Linked DNA regions of Homo sapiens: regions 2 and 3 are each linked to region 1. Evidence: promoter capture Hi-C in 16 types of primary human blood cells and fetal thymus (Javierre and others, 2016). All regions are on one chromosome and are shown on one strand. The core of a region is centred on a gene start or on the middle of the fragment in contact, and the rest is flanking DNA. Distances in the headings are between cores, read along the strand shown.

Region 1 (4,616 bases), core at 790-3,289:
TCTCCTCTTCTCTTCCTTCTCCTCATCCCTTCTCCCCATCACCTCTTCCAGTTGGTTCCCTCTTTTGACTCCACTAATTCGCAATGGCTCTGAGTCTCATCTCCTTTGAGAATTTTGAGACTGTGGTCCAGAAGGGAGGACACTTGGGTTCAGAACTCAGTAGCATGCGTGTCCCTCTGCTCAGCCTCACTTTTCTCTGTATCCTAGGAGATTGACCAAACAAACTGCCCAGACAATGTGAGTTAGAACCTAGGTATTCTAGGTCTTGCTGTTTCCTCTGGTGTCTAATGGTAGAATGGGAAGGATGCCCACAGCTGATGCAGGTGCAATGAGAAGAGAAGGAACAAAGGGTTTGGGAGTGAGGGCACTGGGAAAAACACAGAGGATGACATCTGATAATAAGAAAGGTTGGTCTTAAATATTAACTCATAGACACATATATGGAGATCTTCAATGATATGGTAATTACCTCTCTAATACAGATACGAAAATAGGGACACAAAATGAGATGGGAAGTAGCCCAGAGCTGCAGAGCGCAATTTGGTCCTCAATTTCTAAGAGACTTCATGTCACCTAGAGATGGACTTTGGCAGAGTTACCAATGGCACCAAGGAGATTACAGTGGGATTCAGGGTGTCTCAGGTCTCTCTGAGGGGCAAGAAAGAAGAGAATCATTTTGTCTACTCCCTTGCTTCTGAGAAGGATTATGCCTAACCTGGTTCATATAGAGGACAAATTGGCTCTGGTCACAGGTCACAGAATGTTGGAGCTTGAAGGTTCTTTTTTTTTTTTTTTTTGAGACAGAGTCTCGCTGTCGCCCAGGCTGGAGTGCAGTGGTGCGATCTTGGCTCACTGCAGGCTCCGCCCCCCGGGGTTCACGCTATTCTCCTGCCTCAGCCTCCCGAGTAGCTGGGACTACAGGCACCCGCCACCCACCTCGCCCGGCTAATTTTTTGTATTTTCAGTAGAGACGGGGTTTCACCATGTTAGCCAGGATGGTCTCAATCTCCTGACCTCGTGATCCACCCGCCTCGGCCTCCCAAAGTGCTGGGATTACAGGTGTGAGCCACCGCGCCCGGCCAGTTCTTTTATAACACATCTAATCCAGACATTCCCAGCTACATCAATAGCCTCTGGAATGTCTTGAAATTGAGATCCTTAGCCCTACCCAAAAATCTACCAGATCAGAGTTACCCAGGGTGGGGCTCAATAATATATTTATTTTTAACAAGTACACTTGGTACACAGGCAAGTCTGGGAAACCCTAAACTCTCTCGTATCACAGATCTGGAAGTTGTGGCTCCAGGTCCCGTAGCTAGTTAATGGCACAGGCAGAACTAGAAGTAGGTTTTCTTACCAACGTAGCACTCTGGTGCACTAAGAAACTGCTCTGGCCCATGGAATAGGCAAAGAACAAGTTCTTTAGAGAACTTTCTAAGGGACTTTCATAACTCTCTCTATTACCAGGGATCTCTGATTCCCCATGGTTCTTGGCCAACCCCTATTTTGCAACCCTCAACAAACTGTTAATGAATCTATGCTAAAGCTTAGCTACTCCAATTTTTTCTTCCCTTATTGGGGGTGGAGTTCACCTCAGGAGTGGCTAGGGTTGGCACTTCTGGCCCTGCATAAGCTAAGAGGTACCTCATATAAAGGGCGACTGACACAGCCAGGAGGAAAGCTGTAAGGATAAAGGAGGATAAGCTAGAGAGAACCAGGAGGTGGGAGCCCTGTAGAGCTGTTGGGATGAGGAAAGGAGTCTAGGGTACAATTTAATCAGGGTGGATAAGCATCTAGAGGGCAGAGGTAGGGACTCAGGGAAGACAGAGCTTAGAGCAGAGGGTAGTCAGAGCTTCCAGATCCTTACCGTGGGCAGGAGAGCAGAATAGCAGTCCTGTGTTTCCTGTGTCTGTGAGCTGTGCCTCCCGAGCTCTGCGATGCTGTGGGATCAGGAAGCCCAGCCTGGCTCCTTTTCTCTTTTGCTCCCCTTGCACTGGCTTGTTTCCTCCCCTCTTCTACAGCAGCTGGCTGCTGTGACTGGCAAGTTATAGCCGGAGGGAAGCAGTAAGAAGGGGAGAGGTGTGAGCTCTCTCCAGTCCAGCCCATCCAACTCTTAAAGGCCCAGGACACTGGTCAATGTGAGGGAGTAGTGGGGGTGGGGTGGGGAGAGAAGGATTAAGGGCAGCACATCTCCAGGGAGGAGCCTGGCTGCCCTTCATCTTGATGCCAGCCCTCATTGACCCCAATCCCGCAGTAGCTCTCAAAGTGAAGGGAGTGTCCTCAGTTGCAGTGCTCTGTGAATCACTGCTTTTCATTCTGGTTCCTGCATGTAATACGGCTGTTTTTGCCCTTATTTAATCTGGCTCCTTTCCATAGTGTCTGTTTCCACTGGCCTGCTCCTGTATCTCTGAATCCTGCCTGCAGGGCACTCACTGTAGCTCCGTCCCACAGGAAAAGAAAGAAATAAGATGGGAAAAGAGGAAGACGAGGAGAAGGGGAGGACAGGAATGATGATAGAATGTAGAGGGACAGATAGGTTAGAATCTATGTATATTTTAGGCACTCATTAAATATTGAAAGAATGCATAGATGAACGTGTGAAACAGCTCATTTTTTTTTAAACATCCATTCGTTCCTCCTACAAGCATCTGTTCAGCACCTCTGGGTTATAAGTCATAGCCCTCAGAATGGAGGTAGCACCTTCAGGACATACATGCATGTTTATAAAGATGTGTGCAGAGATGAAGCATAGGCTCAGAGGGGAACTGTGTGAAATGGTGTAATTTTAAGTGTGCTGACGTCTGGCTGCCTATCATGGTTTCCACAAGCATCCCTCAACTGCCTAATATTTTACCATTAGTGATTATAGCTACATTTTTTAGTCCCATTAAAATAAAATCCTCCTAAGTGATTACTATAAAAGTCAGGATAGTGGTTACTGTTGGGAGGGGGAGGAATTGTGGTGAGATGGGACACAGAGGGGGCTTCTGGCATAGCTAGCTAAACTCTATTTCTAGTTCTAAGTGCTAACAAGGGTCTTCACTTAATAATTTATTAAGCTATACATTCTCTTGATATATTTTCTATATGTGTTTTTAAATTTATTTTTTTAGGTCTCATTTAAAATATCATATATCTGTGTTAACTTTTGAAGGCTTAATGATTTTAAATATACATATATGTATATGTATATGTGTGTGTGTGTATATATATATATATATATATTTTTTTTTTTTTTTTTTTTTTTTTTTGAGATAAGAGTCTCGCTGTTGCCCAGGCTGGAGTGCAATGGCGTGATCTTGGCTTACTGCAACCTCTACCTCCCGGGTTCAAGCAATTCTCCTGTCTCAGCCTCCTGAGTAGCTGGGATTACAGGTGCATGCCACCACCCCCAGCTACTTTTTTTTGTATTTTAGTAGAGACGGGGTTTCACCGTGTTGCCCAGGCTGGTCTTGAGCTCCTGAGCTCAGGCAATCCACCTGCCTTGGCCTCCCAAAGTGCTAGGATTACAGGCGTAAGCCACTGCACCCAGCCGATTATAAATAATTTTTTAAAAATTCAATCCTAAGGTCAAAGTAGATTTTAAATAATTTATACCTAGGTTGGGTTGTCTATATTCTTTACTGAGAGCAGGTTTTGATAGAAGAGTAGTAGTATGAAGGAAGGGGACACATTAGGAGGGAGGCCATTCATGGGGAACAGGAAGATTGGGGGGCATCGTAGTTTAAACTGTGCTGATTTCAGATTTGACTTAATAGAGGCCCTGTTTTACATGCTTGTCTTGCTCTCCCATTTCTACTTCCCCAACATGGCCAGCTTATTTTTCCAAGCCTCACCTTCACAGTCCACACTCCTCTTCTATACCCCCAGATTATATACCATCTTTCTGAGTCACTATTTGCATCAATTTAATGCTGCCCAACCTCCTTCCCTCTTGGGTAATCTGTGAGGGGTGTTATCACTCATAGTGGATTTTCTGGGAGAGTCTAGATCTCAAATATTCTGTTTCAATGTTCCCATGAATACAACAGTATTCTTCAGCCCATATGTTCTGATTTTTGGGGCAGGGACTTGGAGACTTTCACAAGGTTAGTATGGTTCCAGAGTGCCAAGGCATGCCCACTGCAGGACTCTCATGAAACAGAGGGAGGGAGCAGACAGACAGGGCCCCCTGGGCACAGTAAATGTCCATCTGGTATGGTTATTCCTATTTCCACCATGATCCTGGCTGCCCCTTCCCCCACTGTTGTCTATTATTAACAGATCCAGAAACCTGATCAGGGCAGTAGCAGCAGAGGGACTTTCTGGGAACCATGCCCAGGAAAAGCCTAGAAGCCCTAAACTGAAATGAAGCAGCAGCTGGCAAAGAGGAAGACCTAAACATGGTACTCTCGCCCTGCCACCCAGGCCTGCCTAGACCTTCTTCCTGACATCCAGAGCAGATGCCACCCAATTAAATGTCTCCGCTTGTCAGGACACTCAGGCTGGAAAGTCTGAGATCAGTTCCCCAGACTATCGAACCAAACTACTCAAACTTCTGAAATAAAGCCCAACTCCTTCCTGATCAAAAATGCAACTCAAAACAGTAAATTCCATTTAAAAATCATCAACATAAG
Region 2 (4,368 bases), core at 421-2,920, 170 kb after region 1:
GCACTCCAGCCTGGGCAACAGAGTGAGATCTTATCTAAAATTTAAAAAAAAGTGTCCAGCCCCAAACTCCATTCCCCACACATACACAAAAAGTGTTTTGAACAAGCTCTTCTTGCTGTGCTAACCCCAGTTACCAGATGGACCATGTGCTGATGAGTCTTAAATTCATATCTCTGCCCTGGTGTTCCTCTGAATTGCTTGCCCACTGAACATGTATCTAAACCTCAAAGGACATAGCTACCACCAAACTCATGATTGTCTTCCCCTAAGCTCAGCCTGATCCAGTTTTCTATCTTGGAGAATGATGCTATTTTCTCTTCTCTCATACTCTTTATCCAGTAATTACCAAATATCATTGATTTTACCTCCTAAATGTTTCTCTCCACCTCCTCCACCATGACTTGTTCTAGGTTCCCACCTACCTGTCGGCCTGAGAGCAGCTGTGCTGTCTCTCCTAACTGGTGTTCCTATGGCTGCTCTTGCCACCTTCCAGGCTATTGTTCGATGAGAAGCTATAATTATTATTATTATTATCATTTTGAGATGGAGTTACACTCTTGTCGCCCAGGCTGGAGTGCAATGGTGAAATCTCGGCTCACTGCAACCTCCACCTCCTGGGTTCAAGTGATTCTCCTGCCTCAGCATCCCGAGTAGCTGGGATTATAGGCACAAGCCACCATGCCCGGCTATTTTTGTAATTTTAGTAGAGATGGGGTTTCACCATGTTGGCCAGGCTGGTCTCGAACACCTGACCTCAGGTGATCCGCATTCCTCGGCCTCTCAAAGTGCTGGGATTACAGGCATGAGCCACCGTGCCAGGCCAATGTAAGTCTGTCACTCTGCTACTTCAACCATAATGATACTCCCCTTCACCACCAGGATACATGATACGATCCTTAACTTGGGGTAGAAGGCACTGCCAGTTCAGCCCTGCCTCCCTCCCTGGCTCTGCACACCACCACAGCCACTCTGGCCCTCTTGCAGTTTTGCCCCCATTTTTATTCCTTGCCTTTGGGCTTCATGTTAGCTGTCCCTTCTCCAGAACTAACTTACTTTGCCTCAATAATTCCTATTTGTCTTTCAGAAAGAAATCTCTAAATCAGGCTCCTCTTTGTAATACCTTTTTTTTTTTTCTTTTTTTGAGACAGTCTCACTCTGTCACCCAGGGTGGAGTGCAGTGGCATGATCTTGACTCACTGCAACCTCCACCTCCCGGGTTCAAGCAATTCTCATGGCTCAGCCTCCCGAGTAGCTGGGATTACAGGCATACACCACCACACCTGGCTAATTTTTGTAGTTTTAGTAGAGATGGGGTTTCCCCATATTGGTCAGGCTGGTCTCAAACTCCTGACCTCAGGTGATCCACCCACCTCGGCCTCCCAAAGTGCTGGGATTACAGGCATGAGCCACTGCACCCGGCCCTGTTTGTAATACTCTTCACAGCTCCTGTACTTCACCTTTCTGGCACTTAACCCTGAAATTAAATAATAGTGTAACCAGGCTTCTCTGATCTCTCTCCTCCTGGGATATAAGGTGGCATGAAGGCAGGATCCCATCTGTCTTGTTCATCCCCAGCACCTAGTCACCTGCAGGGCCAAATCTGGGAGTCAACTATGGTGGTCCAACAAATGGACTTCTTTGTCTTCCTTTGAGAATCTGACCTACCTCCTTCCTGCTGGGGTCCACACCCTCGGGGAGCTCCTCTACAGGCTTGTTCACTAGCTGCTCCAGGGGGAAGATGGGCAGAGGCCCAGAACTGAGGTTGCTGTTAGCATTGAACACGTCCACTTTGGGGCTTGTGACCTCCTAGGAAAGAAAAGGAAACCACTGGTTACTTTAGCTGGTGCACAGCTACCTCCCAGGCTGCCTTTCTCTCTGAAGTCTCTAGGGCACCACCTTCAAGAAGCCTCCCATGTCCCACCCCACCCTGCCACACACACACTCATAAGAACAACATAGGCTGGGTGCAGTGGCTCACGCCTGTAATCCCAGCACTTTGGGAGGCTGAGGTGGGTGGATCACTTGAGGTCAGGAGTTCAAGACCAGCCTGTCTAACATGGTGAAACCGCATCTCTACTAAAAATACAAAACTTAGCCAGGTGTGGTGTCAGGCGCCTGTAATCCCATCTACTCAGGAGGCTGAGGTAGGAGAATCGTTTGAACCTGGGAGGTGGAGGTTGCAGTGAGCTGAGATTGCGCCACTGCACTTCAGCCTGGGCAACAGAGAGAGACTCCTCAAAACAACAACAACAACAACATAGAGCTTAGTGGTCTGTTCTGACCGAAGTCCATTGGTGGAAAATGACTCTTTTCTTTAACGATTCATTAACTTTCCCATGGCTTTCCCCAGAGTTGGAGATCTAGCCTGGATATTTATGACCCTGTCTCTCTTATCTGTTGTGAAATTGTCATCTATAAATTCACTTAACCTTGACCTATCTATACATGCCAGTCTGTACTGTCAGTCCACCAAGAAGGGTTTCATGAGTGCTGCAGGTTTTGACCATCTGTTGATTATACCCCAGTGTGCTTGTGAACTTGCTCTTGAATTCTGGACACATTCCTCAGAGTTAGCTCTGTCTTGTTCTCTCTATAAGCCTGTGAACTTCTCAAAGCAAAGGTTTTGATTTCATATTCCCGTGTCCCAGGCCTAAAGGCTAAATACATTTTTTTTCTTTTCTTTTTTCGGGTTTTTTTTTTTTTTTTTTTTTGAGACAGGGTCTGACTCTGTTGCCCAGGCTGGAGTGCAGTGGCACAATTTCAGCTAACTGCAACCTCTGCCTCCTGGGTTCAAACCAACCTCCCACCTCAGCCTCCTGAGTAGCTGGGACCACAAGCACGCACCACCACACCTGGCTGTTTTTTATTTTTTGTAAAGATGGGGTTTCCCCATGTTACGAAGACTAGTCTCAAACTCCTGGGCTCAAGCAATCCACCCACCTCGGCCTCCCAAAGTGCTGAGATTACAGGCGTGAGCCACTGTGCCCAGCCTAAATACACTTCTGTTAACTCACTGAAAGACCAAAGGAGTTGTAGTTATTCTACCTAGAGAAGGGATCCCAAAGGTGATGGAGTATAGAGACAGCATTATTTCTCAAAGTGTAGTCCATGGACTAACTACATGAAATTACCTTTTTAAAATAAGATTTAAAAGATGCAGATTCCTAGGTGCCAATTCTAAGTCTATAAACCAGAATATTTGGGAATGGGGCCTTGGAATCTGCATTTTAATATGCTTCCCCCTCACTCCCTGCCCCCATCTCCCCGACTTCTATGCATGATAAAATTTGAGAACCAGGCCAGGTGTGGTGGCTCATGCCTGCAATCCTAGCACTTTGGGAGGCCGAGGCTGGTGGATCACTTGAGGTCAGGAGTTTGAGACCAGACTGGCCAACATGGTGAAACCTCGTCTCTACTAAAAATACAAAAATTAGCCAGGCGTGGTGGCACACACCTGTAATCCCAGCTACTTGGGAGGTTGAGGCATGAGAATCACTTGAACCCAGGAGGTGGAGGTTGCAGTGAGCTGAGATCCTGCCACTGCACTCCAGCCTGGGAGGCAGAGTGAAACTGTGTCTCAAAAAAAAAAAAAAAAAAAAAATTGAGAACCATTTCACTAGGAAATTGAGGAAACAAAACCACTAGAGGCACTGAAGTAAAACAGCAAGAAGAATGAGAAGTGGGGGAGAAATAGGAGGGAAAGCACAGGACTCTGGTGTCTTCTCTGCAGCGTTCTTGGCTCCCACAGGTCTGACCACCAGCTGGCCACTGCAGGGCCCAGCCACCCCGCCCCGGACTCACAGCAGTGATCTGGCTCCAGTCCCTAGAGTTGCCAAGCTCCGCCTTCAGGTCCTCATAGGATTTGGTGTTCTGCACATAAAGTAAATAACAGATTAGACCTGGATCTCAGCAGAGGAGATGGATGAGAAGCCATTTTCCCTCAGGAATGAAAAGAAGGCTGGTCTGGGGCCTAGTGGTAAGAAAGGAAAGAGGATATGAAGGCTGAGGCTGGAGGAGGGTCCCTGAAAAAGGAGATTAGATGGTGAGATTGGGACCAGAGGGGCTGCCAGATCAGAAAAGTGGAGCGCAGGCTATATTTGTCCCAGCTCAGCCTGACATGGGGATGGGCAGGATCTTTTGCCACCTGCAGGGGCCAGGGCAAGAACCCACAGGCAGTATGGAGAACCCTGCCTAGGCTATGTAGGCTCTGGGAAATGCAGGGCTCCTGGGGATGGGTGGGGGTCCCCCCAGATAATAGAAGGGAGCCCTGCCACAGAGGAGTGAAGGGACCATGGCTCTGAGGAGTCCCATCTCCATATCCTAGAGCACACTTATGCTGAATGAATGAATGAATGAATGAGTGAATGA
Region 3 (4,059 bases), core at 71-2,570, 180 kb after region 1:
GGCTGAGCCACGAGAATCGCTTGAATCCAGGAGGCAGAGTTTGCAGTGAGCCAAGATTGTGCCATTGCACTCCAGCCTGGGCGACAGAGCGAGACTCTGTCTCAAAAAATAATAATAATAAATACATAAAATAAAATAAAAATTTAAAATGAGTCAATATAAAGAAAAAAATACAAATGTCTTAATAGTACAGGTGGTACCAGGGTATGGTGAAAATCAAGGTGATATGAAGATGACTGCCAGGCTGGGCATGGTGGCTCATGCCTGTAATCCCAGCATTTTGGGAGGCTGAGGCGAGTGGATCACCTGAGGTCAAGAGTTCGAAACCAGCCTGATCAACATGGTGAAACCCCGTTTCTACTAAAAAATACAAAAAAATTAGCTGACTGTGGTGGCACGTGCCTGTAGTCCAAGCTACTCAAGAGGCTGAGGCAGGAGAATCGCTTGAACCCGGGAAGTGGAGGTTGCAGTGAGCCGAGGTCGCTCCACTGCACTCCAGCCTGGGTGACAGAGTGAGACTCCATCCGGAAAAAAATTTTAAAAAAAGAAGATGACTATGGATTGTGGAAATGTGGACTCAAGTTAGGGTGATACGGCAACAACTCAGAAGTTTCCCCAAGACTGTGAATCCACAGAAGTTGACCTCAGCTGGGAGCTCAGTGGATCAAGGGCAGCAAGAGCCTCTGACCTCTGTGAAGCCCCCACAGGGTTGGGCACTTGGGCATACCCAGTAAATTGTGTCTTGGGGTGAAGCCAGGCCAACTCTCCCCACGGCCCCCAGCCTGTTTCCTCCCTGACACCACAGTGGGTTTTGCTCTCTGCTCAGCCCCCTCCCCTGCCCCTGACTCACAGCCAGGATGATGTAGCAGTCACCATCGAAGAAGCTTCCAAAGGTGCTGGAAGGAACAGGCACCATCTGCATGGCCTAAGGAGAGAAAGAGGGTCAGAGGGGCTGCCCTGGACCACCAGGACCCCTAGGCCTGGGAGGAGGGCCCAAGGGGAGGAGGCGTCGGAGACAAAGAGCCGGGCCCAGGAATGAAAGGAGAGAAAAGGAAGAGAGGAGAAGAAAACTGTGAGGGGCGGGAGAAGGAAAATCAATGGAGGGAAAGGAAGGGATGAGTGAGGAAGAGGAAGTGGAGAGGAAGGTTGAGAGACAGAGGGAGAAGAAATGGAGAAAGGGAAAGGGAGACCAGCCGGGGTGTGGATGATGCGGGAGGTGAGGGGCTGAGCTCTCAGGGGCTTCAGGGCAGGAGCAGAGGAAACGAAGAGAAATCCCAGGCCTCCCTCCTTGGCCTTGCCTCCCTCCACCCCAGGCCTGAGCAGCCCCCATGCCCAGACAGGGCCTCACCTCGATCCTCCATATCTGCAGCCCCGGGGTGGTGATGTTGAGAGAGCCTTTGACTTGGGCGCTCAGCTTGGTCATGGTGAGTGAGCCTGGGGGAGAAGGCGTTGGGAGCAGGGGCACCCTGAGTTCGGATGCTGCCCTTCCAGCCTGCCCCTAGAGAACTCCCAACAGTGCCAGGAGGTCGCAGGCTCAGGGGCTTGGGGGAGCACAGAGGGTTACTCCCCACTCAGGGACCATTTCCGCTTGTTTAGTACCAAATCCGCAGTGTCTAGCACAGTGACTTTGCTCAATAAGGAAGAGAGGGGGAGGGAAGGAGTGAGAGATGGATGAATGAATGAACAGAGTGAACCCTCCCACTGTGAACTACTCTCTGCCCGCTAAACTGGAAGGAACCCCCCTCCCCAAGCTTTTCTCCTCATGTCAGCCCTTTCTCCATATTATTTTTTTCTTCTTCTTCTTTTTGAGATGGAGTCCCGCTCTGTCGCACAGGCTGGAGTGCAGTGTCGTGATCTTGGCTCACTGCAACCTCTGCCTCCCAGGTTCAAGTGATTCTCCTACCTCAACCTCCCGCATAGCTGGGATTACAGGCGTGAGCCACCACGCCTGGCTAATTTTGTATTTTTAGTAGAGACAGGGTTTCCCCATGTGGGCCAGGCTGGTCTCAAACTCCTGACCTCAGGTGATCCACCTGTCACAGCCTCCCAAAGTGCTGGGATTACAGGCATGAGCCACTGTGCCTGGCCGGCCCTTTTTGCTTGGACCTGTAGCTGTATTCGCTCCTGCTGCTCATCAGCCTCAGCTGGGGAGCTTCGGAACGTGCTGATGCTCCAGGCTCTGGTGATTCTGATTTAATTAGGCCAGGGTGGGGCTTGGGCATGGGTGCTTTATTTTCTGCCTTTTGGGAGGTGAGGCATGGGTGCTTTTAAAACTCCCCAGTGATTCTGATATGAACTAGGGCAGACAGCCACTAGTGCCCAGTTATTCTCCTCCCTAGTTTTGAGGTTCCTCCTCATCAGGCCAGAGGCCACCCCGATCTCCATGGAGCCTATCACCCAGCCTGGCAGAGAGCTGCCCTCCATGAATGCTCCTTGAACTGATGAATAATGAATGAGAGGGCATGTGGCCGACAGGTCAGGCCTCCACTCGCTGACAGCCTGAAATCTCACTATCTAATCTCTCCTTGCACCTTGACTTTGAGTCACCTCTTAGTGACTTGGCCTTTTAGTACTTAGAAACTCCCTTTTCTGAGCCCTGAGGGGTGGCTGCTGCTTCCCTGGCGTTCTAGAGTTGGAGGTAAGGCCCTGCCCAGTCTCTGATCATTGCCTGCTCCGACTGATTAGCAGCAGCTTGCCGTGTAACTGTAGGAGCCCCTTGGGCTTGGGTCCTGTCTGATGGCCTGTTGGCTATGGCCTTCTCCATCAGGCAACCATGGTCTCCTCCATCAGGTATTTTTCAACCTACCAAGTCCCCAGGGCTCCCAGGATTCCTGGTCCAGCAGAACCAGGTTGGGTATAAAGGAGGAGACCGTTTTCTGTTTCATTTCTGTCATCACCTTTGTCTCTGTCCCCTTCTTTTATTTATTTATTTATTTATTTATTTTTGGGACAGAGTTTCACTCTTGTTGCCCAGGCTGAAGTACAATGGCACAATCTCGGCTTACTTCAACCTCCGCCTCCCGGGTTCAAGTGATTCTCCTGCCTCAGCCCCCCAAGTAGCTGGGATTACAGGCGCGAGCCACCAAGCCCAGCTAATTTTTGTATTTTTAATAGAGACGGGGGTTTCACCATGTTGGCCAGGCTGGTCTCGAACTCCTGACCTCAGGTGATCCACCCGCCTCAGCCTCCTAAATTGCTGGAATTACAGGCGTGAGCCACCGCGCCGGGCCCCGTCCCTCTTTTTCTTTGACACTCACTAGCTGTATGAACGTAGACTTCCCTTCTTCATCTATGAGCTGAGGGGGTCAACTTAGGGGGTTAACTAAATCGATGATCTCTAAAGCCTCACCCAGGGACATGCTGATTCCAGGGTTAACTGGCAGCAAGAGGAATAGAGGGTGGACATGAGCAGGCACTTCTTGCTTATCAGAGAGGGGATTCAGGGGAGCAGAGACTTGAAAAAGCCAGCGCTCCCCCTCCCCAGAGAGAAATCAGGATTGGGGCCAGCCCCCACAGGCCAAAGGTGGGCAAGGGGACTCAGGAGTGGAAGCTCTGAGATGTGGCCCCCCTACCTGGTGTATACCCTCCAGATGCTCCTGCCCTCTACCCATGTTGGTCAGAGCAGATGCCTCTCCTCCACCCCTTGGTAGGGCCTCCTCCTCACTTCTCCTGTCTTCCCTGAACTTCCAGGAAGACCAGGGCCCGTCACTTCCCCCAGCCCTGCCACCGTGGACTCTGGTTTGGATTTGAGTTGTCTCCTCCTTCAGTTTTAATTCACTGGCTTCCTCCACTCCTGGTACTTTCTCTTCTGTGTCCCCAGACCAGGGAAGGGCATGGTCACCCCAAGACCCCAAAGTCAGCCATCTGTGCAGCATCCTGGACTCTTTCTGCTCCTGCCCTTCCATCCACCTAAACTCCCTTGAGTCTCCCCACTACACACAGCCCCCTGGCCCCTCTCTGCTGGCACTCTGCCCTCTAGAAATGCCACACTGCTGGCGGCCCCACCCCCATGCTGCCTCTCACCCCACGCCTGCTTGCACTGCTCCAATATGGAAAGCT

What was found. Contacts are between HindIII fragments. The CHiCAGO score rates a contact against its expected background, and 5 or more counts as called.
Region 2: a fragment that was not itself captured here is called in contact with the fragment with the promoter of PLCD4 in region 1 in 2 of 17 cell types (M2 macrophages and M1 macrophages); the score reaches 5.5 in M2 macrophages.
Region 3: a contact is called between a fragment that was not itself captured here and the fragment with the promoter of PLCD4 in region 1, in 1 of 17 cell types (fetal thymus). The highest score is 5.2, in fetal thymus.

Annotation. Positions count from the first base shown.
Region 1 is chr2:218,605,322-218,609,937 of GRCh38, reverse strand. It overlaps PLCD4 (phospholipase C delta 4), which reads right to left and starts at 2,039. Exons shown (of 16, transcript NM_032726.4): 1 at 1,868-2,039. The HindIII fragment of the contact is 12,670 bases long and covers 1,549-4,616 here.
Region 2 is chr2:218,438,160-218,442,527 of GRCh38, reverse strand. It overlaps VIL1 (villin 1), which reads right to left. Exons shown (of 20, transcript NM_007127.3): 18 at 3,802-3,870; 19 at 1,666-1,806. Among named protein-coding and RNA genes, the nearest start is that of VIL1, 21 kb to the right of the region's middle. The HindIII fragment of the contact is 5,722 bases long and covers 1-4,368 here.
Region 3 is chr2:218,421,143-218,425,201 of GRCh38, reverse strand. VIL1 (villin 1) reads right to left here. Exons shown (of 20, transcript NM_007127.3): 2 at 1,349-1,434; 3 at 851-925. The coding sequence starts at 1,423. Among named protein-coding and RNA genes, the nearest start is that of VIL1, 4.0 kb to the right of the region's middle. RefSeq lists an enhancer at 296-796. The HindIII fragment of the contact is 867 bases long and covers 887-1,753 here.